Regions from separate parts of the Homo sapiens genome. Here region 2 is linked to region 1. Evidence: promoter capture Hi-C in 16 types of primary human blood cells and fetal thymus (Javierre and others, 2016). All regions are on one chromosome and are shown on one strand. The core of a region is centred on a gene start or on the middle of the fragment in contact, and the rest is flanking DNA. Distances in the headings are between cores, read along the strand shown. Region 1 holds the start of CLEC4F (C-type lectin domain family 4 member F). Region 2 has its middle 14 kb from the start of FAM136A.

Region 1 (5,289 bases), core at 1,486-3,985:
CAGGAAACCTGAGTAAAAGGCCTTGCGCTGGGGTCGTTGAAGGAGACCCCACAGCCCCTTTAATCTGCAAGGTCTTTCCCACCAACCTCACATGCATCTACCTCTGGTCCTGCTAGCATCCTTTGTTCACCTCATGAACTAGGACCTAATCTCACACATCCATGATCCCCTTCTGATTCCAGTCTCCCCTCAGGAATAGGGAGAAAAACCCAAGATGGCAGGGACCCTTTCTGGAGCATCCATGTACTATTTCTCATGCACTGCCTATGTAGATGTGTGAGACCTCAGTTACTGTGCTAAGGTAAGAGAGGGGACCTTTCAAGGTACTGGGAGTTCAGTCAAAGATTCTGCTTTGTAAAGATAGACAAACAAATCAATGCGACAGAATGGAGAATACGGAAGTAGACCCCCACACATATGGACAATCGAATTTCAACAAAGGTGCAAAGGCAATTCACGGAGAAAGATAACTTTTTCAACAAATGGTGCTGGAACAATCAATTTCACACCATTATACAATAATTAACTCAAATGAGGCAGAGACCTAAATGTAAAACTAAAAACCGGGCTGGGCATGGTGGCTCACGCCTGTAATCCCAGCACTTTGGGAGGCTGAGGTGGGCAGATCACGAGGTCAGGGGATCGAGACCATCCTGGCTAACACGGTGAAACTCCGTCTCTACTAAAAATACAAAAAATTAGCCAGGCGTGGTGGCGGGCGCCTGTAGTCCTAGCTACTCCAGAGGCTGAGGCAGGAGAATGGCATGAACCTGGGAGGCAGAGCTTGCAGTGAGCCGAGATCACGCCACTGCACTCCAGCCTGGGTGACAGAGCGAGACTCCGTCAAAAAACAAAAACAAAAACTAAAACTAAAAACTGTACAATTTCCAGAAACAAAGGAGAACATCTTTGTAGCCTTGGATTAGGCAGATTTCTCACATACGAGATCATGAGAATAATCCATAACAGAAATAAAATGATAAATTAGACTATCAAAATTAAAATCTTGTTAGGAGAATGACAAGACAAGTCACAGACTGAGAGAAAAATATTTGCAAATCACATGACTAGCAAAGAACAAAGAGTACATACTCTATGATCTCTTATCTATAAAACTCTAGAAAAAGCAAACTAATCTATAGTTACAGCAAGTAGATCTGTGGCTGCCCAGGGATGAGGAGAGGAAGGGAGAGGAAGGAATTACAAAGAGCCACAAGGAAACTTTGGGGTGAGGAGGATGACTATGTGATGATGATTGTGGTGATGGTTTCAGGGGCACACACATATGTCAAAACTTAACAGATTGTATGCTTTAAATATATACACCATTAGACCTCAATAAAACTGTGTTTTTAAAAAATTATCTCTTTCTGTGAGGATGGTGGAGCCCATTCAGTGGTCAGAGGGTACCAGGAGAGAAGCTCATCCTAGGGTCTGAGCATCTGAAGGCCCCAGTTCCCTCTGCACCCCACCCCCACTGTGGCTACTCACTGTTGGGTTCAAAAGGTAAATGCCCAGTAATGTTGTCTCCCAGAATTACGGCTTGCACAGGCTTCGGAACAGGTCTTGTCTGCTGTTGAACTGAGACATTCCATTTTTCCAGGTCAGCAAATCCCCAGCCCTGAGCCTGGGAGGATACGCTGTCCCACACAGAGGTAGAGTTCCAGAACCGGGGAGATAGCAGCAAAGACCCTCCCAGGGTTTCCCTCATGAACCTCAGTTCTTGGGAGGCTCCCCCTTGGACAGTGGCCTTTATCTGTTCCCAGGGAAGCTGTGGCTTGGGCCTGGAGCTGGAGGTGGAATGATCTTTCTGGGAGCAGAGAGGCCCAGAGAGTGTGCATCTGGGGCCCCTGGGGACTTTGTGCTGAAAGGAGAGAAAGTTAGTGAGATTTGGGTCACCTGGGGGCTTACCCACTACAAAGAGAGTCACAAGAGAGAAGACCAAGGTCACAGCCATAAATGCCGGGGTAGCCTGAACGAGCCTCGGTATCTTGGGGGCTGCAGGAGCCATTGCCACAGAGTCCACCTCTGCAGGGGAGAAGGCAGTGTCCAAGGTGAGAGGGTGCTGTGCAAGGTAAGAGGGTGCTGTGCAGGCTGAGACACAGCCTCTCTGATTCTGTTTCCTGGGTTGTCTAATGGGGATGATAACTCCTGCCATGCTTATCATGCAGGTGGTTATGGAGAAGGAAGACAAAACACTTTGGGCTGTTCACCAGAGCTAGATGTGGATATGGTAGCAACACAGAGCTGAGGAGCTCTGAGACCGAGACCACCGATCTCCAAATCTCAAGGAGGCTTTGGTGGTGCACAGGGCACAGAACCTGGCACAGAGCACAGAGCAACAAAAGTGTAGTTTGAATGAAAGAAGAAAGGAAGGGAGGGAGGCCTCACAGGACCAGCTCAGTGTGCAGAGCCGGGATTCCAAGCCAGGACCATCTGAATTCAAAGTTCATCCCCTTTCTCTTGCCAGGTCTGCATCCCCAAGGACAAGGGTCTGGGGAGAGCAATAAGACAGCAATAAGCTGCCTTATGGCAGAGGGCCAAAGGACAGGCAGGCTACTCCCTCACTGGGCAAGAGCTGGGGCCCCAGTTTTCTCACCTTGGGGGTGCAGGGAGACACACTGGTTATCTGTGCAGAAGCGGACTGCCTCACCGTCCATCTCTGCTTCCTTGATCCTCCAGCACTGCTCCCAGCCACTGGCTCCTGGAAGGGCCGTCCCGTGGACCAATGGCAGTGGAAGCAAAGCTGAGACACCCACACTTATATGCTCCTGACCACCCTCCCAGCTCTTCCTCCCTCCCTGCCTGACTCTGCAGAAACCCGCCCCAGTGGGCCCCTCCCCTAGAGGCTCCCAGATACCCATCTGCCCTATTTTCTTCCTCTTCCCATTAGCACCTTCCCGTCAGTTCTCAGCCCCATCATCCCAGCCTCTGCCGCATCCAGCATAACCCCAAACACACCTCTTCTTCTCTGGGGGCTGGGACTGGCACCTAGGAAGGGGGTCTCAGCTTTGCACAGAAAACATCCTTATGACTATGGCTGACCTTTAATTCTAGCCTCAGAACCTCTTAAGTAAAAGGAGTCAGGTAAAAGAGGGGCCAGGTCAGTGCGGCCGATATTTGCAGGTCAAAGGAGGAAGCGGGGTGACCAGCCACTTGGGGACTCACAACTGAATTATAGTATACAGGAGGATGTGCGGAGGTTATATAAAAATACTACATGATTTTGTACAAGGGACTTGAGCATCTGTGGACTTTGGTACCCATGGGAGTCCTGAAACAAATCCCCTGCAGATACCAAGGGACAACTCTGTAAAAAATATATCTGGTCTTCATCTCAGTTCCTGACACAGAACTCCTAAAACGCTTAGAGTTTCCTGGGTGACAGGAGTGTTTTTTGTTATTCATAATAAGCCCCTTAGGACTACACTTGGGTTTATGCTAATGAGGTGACACAGGGTGGACCCTTAGATAATTTCAGGCTGGAGGCTGGTCCCAGAAAGACCAAACATGGGATTAGACTTTGGAAGACTGGGACTTTCAGCCACCCACTCCCATTCCCTACTCCCAGACCTCCAGGTATGGGAGATGGCCTGGGGTCTGGGCTATAACGACTCTTAAAAAATGAGATTCAAGGAGCTTAGGGATTGGTGATCCACATGCCAGGAGGGTGTCATGCCCTGACTCCACAGAGACAGAGTCTCCTGCACTTGGGACCCCACTGGGCCTTGCCCTGTGTACCTCTTCATCAGGCTGTTTTTGTCCTTTACAATAAAAGAATAGGAAGTACAGTGTTTTTCTGAGTTCTGTGAATTGTTCTAGTGAATTATGAAAACTGAGAGGTTGTTGCAGAAACCCCCTAATTTTTTGTTTGAGACAGGGTCTCCCTCTGTCACTCAGGCTGGAGTGCAGTGGTACGATCATAAGTCAATGCAGCCTTGAACTCCTGGACACAAGTGATCCTCAGTTCTCAGCCCCAACATCCCAGCCTCTGTCACATCCAGCATAACCCCAGCATAACTGGGACTACAGGTGTGTGCCAACATACCTGGCTAATTTTTTATTTTTATTTTTTTGTAGAGATGGGATCTCTTTTTATACCCCAGGCTGGTCTGGAACTCCTGGCTTCAAGTGATCCTCCCACCTCAGCCTCCCAAAGTGCTGGGACTACAGGCATGAGCCACCTTGCCTAGCCAGAACCCCCAAATTTGTAGTTGACCAGGCAGAAGTGGGGTCACTACCTCACTTGTAGCTAGCATCTGAAGGGGGGCAGTCTTGTGGGACTGAGGCCTTACCCTGTGAGATCTGTGCTAACTCTGGAAGTTAGTGTTAGAATCTGTTTGAATTGTTGGATGCCCAGCGGGTGTCAGAGAATCGGCTGGTGTCAGGAAAAAGCACACATTTGGTGTCAGAAGTGGTGTCAGAAAATACCAAGCAGGCCCCAACTTTAGCTGATTGGATCCATGCCTCCTGAGGTGACCAGGTTCTCAAGACTAACTCCAAAGAATCTGATGGAGCAGGCTGGGGCCAATGTGTGGCTTTCAATGAGCCCTATCCCTTCCAGGAGGAACAGATACTGCTTCAGGGGTTCCTGCTGCTGGGTGGGCCTAGCATTAGAAGAGAAGGCATGAGGCATCCCAGTGGACAGTGCCATGGAGCTGTGCAAACGTGATGTCCCTGTCCCTGCCACAGGGGTTACCAGCTGAACAGAACCAATATTCCCATGGCTGGTCAAGGAACCCCTCTAAAAGCCAGTGCTGGGGTTACCAGCAGATTCCTGTTCTTTGGTTCCTTCTTGTCTCCATTACTTCAAACGGTCACAATCTTTTTGAAATAAATCACATTTTCTTTCACTTTGGAAAGTCTAATTACATATTACACCATCATAGCAACTCTTAAACAAACTCACAACCTTGCAAATGGCTTGTTCCATCCATGTTGTGTTGTTTCTTTGCTACTTTCACCCTCTGTTCCTATGTCCCATTCTCATGTCTTTTGCACAGATCCTGGGGTCAGCCTCTTATAGGTCCCCAGCTGCCAACTAACAACACTGCAGACCAACCACAAAGGTGGAGAAGCCACACGGAACGTGCCTCCTCTGAGGCCGGGCCAGGAGAACAGCTTTGGCCCAGGAGGAGCCTGTGCCATGCGTGGCTGATGTCAACCCGGCAAGCAAGTCGCCCCGTGGGTAGGGGATCTGCAGACAGGAAGGGAGCGGTTGCCCACACCCAGTTCATGATGGTGGGGGTGTGTGTGTTTGTGTGTGTGTGTGTGTGTGTTGAACTGTGC
Region 2 (5,289 bases), core at 839-3,338, 500 kb before region 1:
CCACTGCACTCCAGCCTGGGTGACAGAGTGAGACTCTGCCTCAAAAAAAAAAAAAAAAAAAAAAAGAAAATATTTATTTTTAGTAGAAACAAGGTCTTCCTATGCTGCCCATGTTGGCCTTAGGCTCCTGGCCTCAAGAGATCCTCTTGCCTTGATCTCCCAAAATGCTGAGATTGAGGCAGGAAAATAGGGTCTGGAGGCTGGGAACATAAGGCTGATTCAGACTTCAGCTATGAGAAGAAATATTCTCTACATAGGGCATACACCAAGTAAATGACTTTGTAACTACTTCATCCTCTTCATTTACATCGGGTGTACCCCAAGTAGAGGGTATTTAAACTCACGAAAACTCTGTAACAGGACCCTTGGGTCCCTATGCTCAGGTCTGCTCCTACACTGTGGAGTGTACTTTTATTTTCAATAAATCCCTTCATTCCTTCCTTGTTTTGTTTGTGTGCTTTGTCCAATTCTTTGTTCAAGATGCCAAGAACCTGGACACCCTCCACTGTTAAAAAGATTATAGGCGTAAGCCACCGTGCCAGGCCTGAGTTTGAGAATTCTTGATCCAAATCAACCTTCTCATGAAACTGGGCCCTAGAAAGACATGGGTTTCATGTCATCACAGTGGGTGTCAGAAATTAGAATACACATGGATATCTCTGACTGTCATCCCAGTGTGTTTTCTATACACCTCTGAAATGACATGGCTTGAATACCCCGGCCTCTGTCCTCCCCATCCTCTGGGTCACATTCTCTTGAAGCCACTTCATGATAACACTCCTTGTTGCAAGGTAGGCCATGGAGCTGAGTGCAAGTGGGGGCTGAGTGGGGCCTCACTTTTCTCATCTGGGATTTTACCTTCAAAGATAATAACAGTAGCTTCTGTTTACTGAGCACCCATTGTGCACCAGATATACCAGGCACATAAAGATAGGACTTCTAACCCTCTCCACAGCTTTGCAGATGTTACTGTTATCCTTATTTGGCAGACAAGTGTCAAAACCACATTCAGACTTAGTAAGAAGACACTTTAATTCAAAAGGATTGTTGCAGCCGGACATGGTGCTGTACAACTGCAGTGTCAGCTACTCTGGAGGGCTATTTGGGAAGCAGGAGGATCACTTGAGCTCAGGAATTCTAGTTCAGCTTGGACAACACAGCCGGATCCCATCTTTAAAAAAAGAAGATTGCTGCAATAGGGGAGGGGACTATTGCAATAGAGGGAGAAGGACTGTTGCATTAGGGGGAGGGTACAATTGAGTAGGAGGAGGGGAGTATCGCACTGGGGTAGGGGACTGTTGCAATGGGGGAGAGAGAATATTGTAATAGTGGAGGGGACTAATGCAGTGGGGGAAGGGACTACGTCAGTAGGGAGCACCTTGTGACCTTAACATCTGCAAAGATCTTGAGAGTTAGACAAAGAAGAGAAGAAGAGTTTTTTCTTTTTCTTTTTTTTTTTTTTTTTTTTGAGACAGAGTCTTACTTTGTCACCCAGGTTGGAGTGCAGCAGTGTGATCTCTGCTCACTGCAACCTCTGCCTCCCGGGTTCAAGTGATTCTCATATCTCAGCCTCCCGAGTAGCTGGGATTACAGGCATGTGCCACCACACCCATCTACATTTTTTATTTTTAGTAGAGATGGGGTTTTGCCACGTTGGCCAGGCTGGCTGAGACCTCAGGTGACCTCCTGACCTCAAGTGATCTGCCCTCCTCAGCCTCCCAAAGTACTGGGATTACAAATGTGAGCCACTGTGCCTGGCCAAGAGTTTTTTTAAAGGAGTAAAAAAGCTAGAAAAGAACCAGGTGTTGGGAAGCAGGAGAAGAGGATGATGTGACCAATGAGATAGTAGATCAGAGAATGTTTTACTGTGAGGCTAGCATATTTTCTGGGAGGAAACTCTCAAGAGTGTTGTGTGGCTCAGGCTCAGGGTGGCCAAACCTCAGAGGTCTGGAGAGAGGAGGAAAGCTCTCAACCCAAAGTTTGGTTAACCGACATCTTGTTCCTATTGATCAATGGGAGCAAGCAATTCAGGTAATTATTTATAAGGTAAAGAATGGGAATTTGGAATCTGTGTCTGGCCTGGTCATAAGTAAACAAGGGAGGCATGTGTGAGTTTTCTCTAAGTCATATGGAGAAGTATGAGTCCTTGCAGTAAGCGTTTTCCAGAACACAAAGAGTTAGGGATTTCTTAACCTTCACTGTTCTTCAGAATCACTGGGCTCAGGTAAAATTCAACATTGTCAGGAGAAAGTGCTTTTAGAGGTCAAGTACATTGTTTAAGGTCACACTGCTAAGACACAGTGGAAAAGGGACTCAAATGAGATCTGATGGACTCCAAAACTCACATCTTCTCCCCTGCTCCTGCTGACCTTGCAAGTCTAAAATTGTATTGTCAATCAGAGCATTTCTCACAGCATCTGGTGGAGTGCTGGTCAGATGTACCTGGTAAATACTTATTGAGTTGAACTGTCCCATTTTTCCAGGGTGGTGAGGGTAGGGTGAGAATGTGAGAATGTGTGGGTTGGTTCATAGCTATTATATCTTTTTTTTTTTTTTTGAGATAGGGTCTTGCTCTGTTGCCAAGGCTAGAGTGCAGTGGCATAATCATGTCTTACTGCAACCTCCCACCTCAGCCTCTCAAGTAAGTGGGACCACAGGCATGCGCCATCATGCCCAGCTAAGTTTCGTATTTTTTTTAGAGACAAGGTCTTGCTCTGTTACCCAGGTTGGTCTCGAACTCCTGGGCTCAAGCAATCTGCCCACTTTTGCCTCTTAAAGTGCTATATGCATGGGTGTAAATGTGAAATTATATTTCCTACTGTGGATAATGATCAAAAGAGTTTGGAAAGTCCTGAGCTGAAGTACTGTGTAGGTTGCAGATCTAGTTTCTGTTGAAAACATTGGTTTACAGATTCAATCTTGGGCTGAGCATCAAACTCTTCTGTGTTCTTAGCCTACTTCTGCCAACTTGTCCTTCAGCTAACTCAGTGATAGAGCCACTCCCTTTTCTCTTCCTTCCTTCTCCCTTTTATAAATTGTGACAATACTATTAACTCTCAGGGGTGTGGTGGCAGGCAGTTAGTGTCTCTGAGGTATGAGGTAAATAATTATTATTGTTCCTGGGAATCCTGTATTTCCCTTTCTCCCCCTCTTATTACTGTGGTTGTTATAGCAAAACAACAATGGTGATAATAATAATAATTTGTGGAACCTGTTGTGGTCCAGGCCTTGGGAGCAGAAGTGCTGAGGAGCCCCTTAAGGAAGGTCTCTTGTGGGGCTGGGCTCTGTTCCACCACAGGAGGCGACCTCAGGCCTGTCACACACACTCAACCCAAAGGGCTCTGCTTCTCCTTACAGTAAAAGTCCATTCAGGGAACTTTGGTTGAAATCTTTGGATCTGGGTTGGTCTTAGGTATTCCTTTCTCTGGGATTCAATTTCTTTATCTGTAAAATGAGCTTGACTGGATTAAACCATCTCTCTGGTTCCTTACCAAAGAGGCCAAGAGTCCCTTCTTAATCAGGCAACATCCCTGGCTCCAAATTGTGAAGAGTAAGAAGAGAGGAGAGATCCATTCTGAGGCATTGTCAAGACTGGGTGGGGTGGTGGGATTTGAGGAGATATTGTCAAAGTTGTGGACAGTTAGAGGGCTGAATGTGGACACTAGGCTCCTGAAAGGACAAGGGATTAGGACAGAAGTTTTAAGAGGGGATCCAGAGTTGCCAAAGACTTATTTCATCTACTGTAAATACTGAATACTTTACCCGTGTAAACACCATGCCACACAGATATTCAAAATATATCCAAGCTCAACAAGAAGAGTGATACTAATGGCTGGACCTAGGTTCTCTTGGTGATATTAGAACATCAGTGGCACTTTACATAAAGTCAGACATCTCAGTTCTGACAGGACAAGCATCTGGCCCAGGACCACTGTGGGTCATTTAATCCTGGAGAAATGAAAAGGTTGCCGTCAACTTTTCTTCTTTTTTTTGGCAGGGTCTTACTTAGGCTGGAGGGCAGTGGCAGGATCACAGCTCAAGTGATCCTTTCACCTCGGCCTCCTGAGTAGCTGGGACTACAGTTGTGCTCCACCATGCCCAGCTAATATTTTACTTTCTGTAGAGACGGGGTCTTACTGTGTTGCCTAGGCTGATCTCGAAATCCTGAGCTCAAGCAATCCTTCCACTTTGGCCCCACCAAAGTGCTGGGATTACAGGCGTGAGCTACCAGCCCCAGCTTGCCTTCAACCTTTAAAGACAAGATCTGTACACTTATTTTTGTCATTAAGTCAATGTAACTTAGTGGGGTGTGGGGAGGGTGATGGTGGGCTGAGAAGGGATAGTTGCCATTTAGGTGGTCTGTGCTGAGAGGGGGTGAGAGATGCTTCAGGGAATGAGGGAGGGGCTGTCATTATACCAGCAGCACCGCTGGGCTTGGGACCTCTAGCCATGGCTTGTGGCTCCTGGTCAGGAACCCAAGAGAGGCAAGACCATCAGGTTCCAGCTGAACTTTTAGCAGACATGCGGGGTGGCTCCACCGAACACCAAAGGAGGTGGGACGCATTTCTTCTCCTGACTTGAGGTTATGCTGGCCATGACCAGAAAGAACATTAGTGGGATTTTCTCTCTTCCCTGTTAGAAGCATGGAGAGTAGCTTAGCAGAGGGCCAGCTGAGCACATTCTTAATGGAAGGGCAGAGGGGAGGAGTAAATGCCCTTGGTCTACCTGTGCTAGTGGAACCCCTACATGGGAAGACCTCAAGCCACCCAGGGCAGAACTGTGTGTTCTTCAGAGGAGCGAGACACAGGGCATGGCCAAGGTTGGGTTTCTGCATCCTTTGTGCACAGGAAGAATAATGCTTAAATGTATTCAACGGGCAGATATGAAGGAAACAAGATACTGTATCTGGACAACTGCAAAGGGGTGAGCTGTGGGTGGGAGGTGTGGGAAAAGGAAGGAACCAGCGAGTTGGTATCCAGAGAGTTGCCTGGAGTGCAGGCAGGTTGTATGTACATGAACCTCAAGTATATTTTAGCACCAGATTCTTCATACCTGGTTGTCCCCATCACTACTCCACTGAAGCTGCCATCTCCTGAGGGCACCCTGGGCCTCTGCAACCTGGAGAGGTGGACAGCATTTGGAGTGGTCATCCCTTGGGACAGTGGAGATAAACAAAGACCAGCTGAATGAGAAAAGCAAAGGCTATTTATTGTGAACTTGCTATAGCAAGGGAGTCAGCCACCATCACTTGTGTTTAGTGAAGGCTCAAAGGCAAGCAGAGTGGGAAAG

The links. Contacts are between HindIII fragments. The CHiCAGO score rates a contact against its expected background, and 5 or more counts as called.
Region 2: a fragment that was not itself captured here is called in contact with the fragment with the promoter of CLEC4F in region 1 in 4 of 17 cell types (non-activated CD4 T cells, naive CD4 T cells, M2 macrophages and 1 more); the score reaches 6.8 in non-activated CD4 T cells.

Annotation. Positions count from the first base shown.
Region 1 is chr2:70,817,864-70,823,152 of GRCh38, forward strand. It overlaps CLEC4F (C-type lectin domain family 4 member F), which reads right to left and starts at 2,736. Exons shown (of 7, transcript NM_173535.3): 1 at 2,600-2,736; 2 at 1,912-2,028; 3 at 1,492-1,581. The coding sequence starts at 2,660. The HindIII fragment of the contact is 10,753 bases long and covers 1-5,289 here.
Region 2 is chr2:70,313,906-70,319,194 of GRCh38, forward strand. No RefSeq gene overlaps it. Among named protein-coding and RNA genes, the nearest start is that of FAM136A, 14 kb to the left of the region's middle. The HindIII fragment of the contact is 6,397 bases long and covers 1-5,287 here.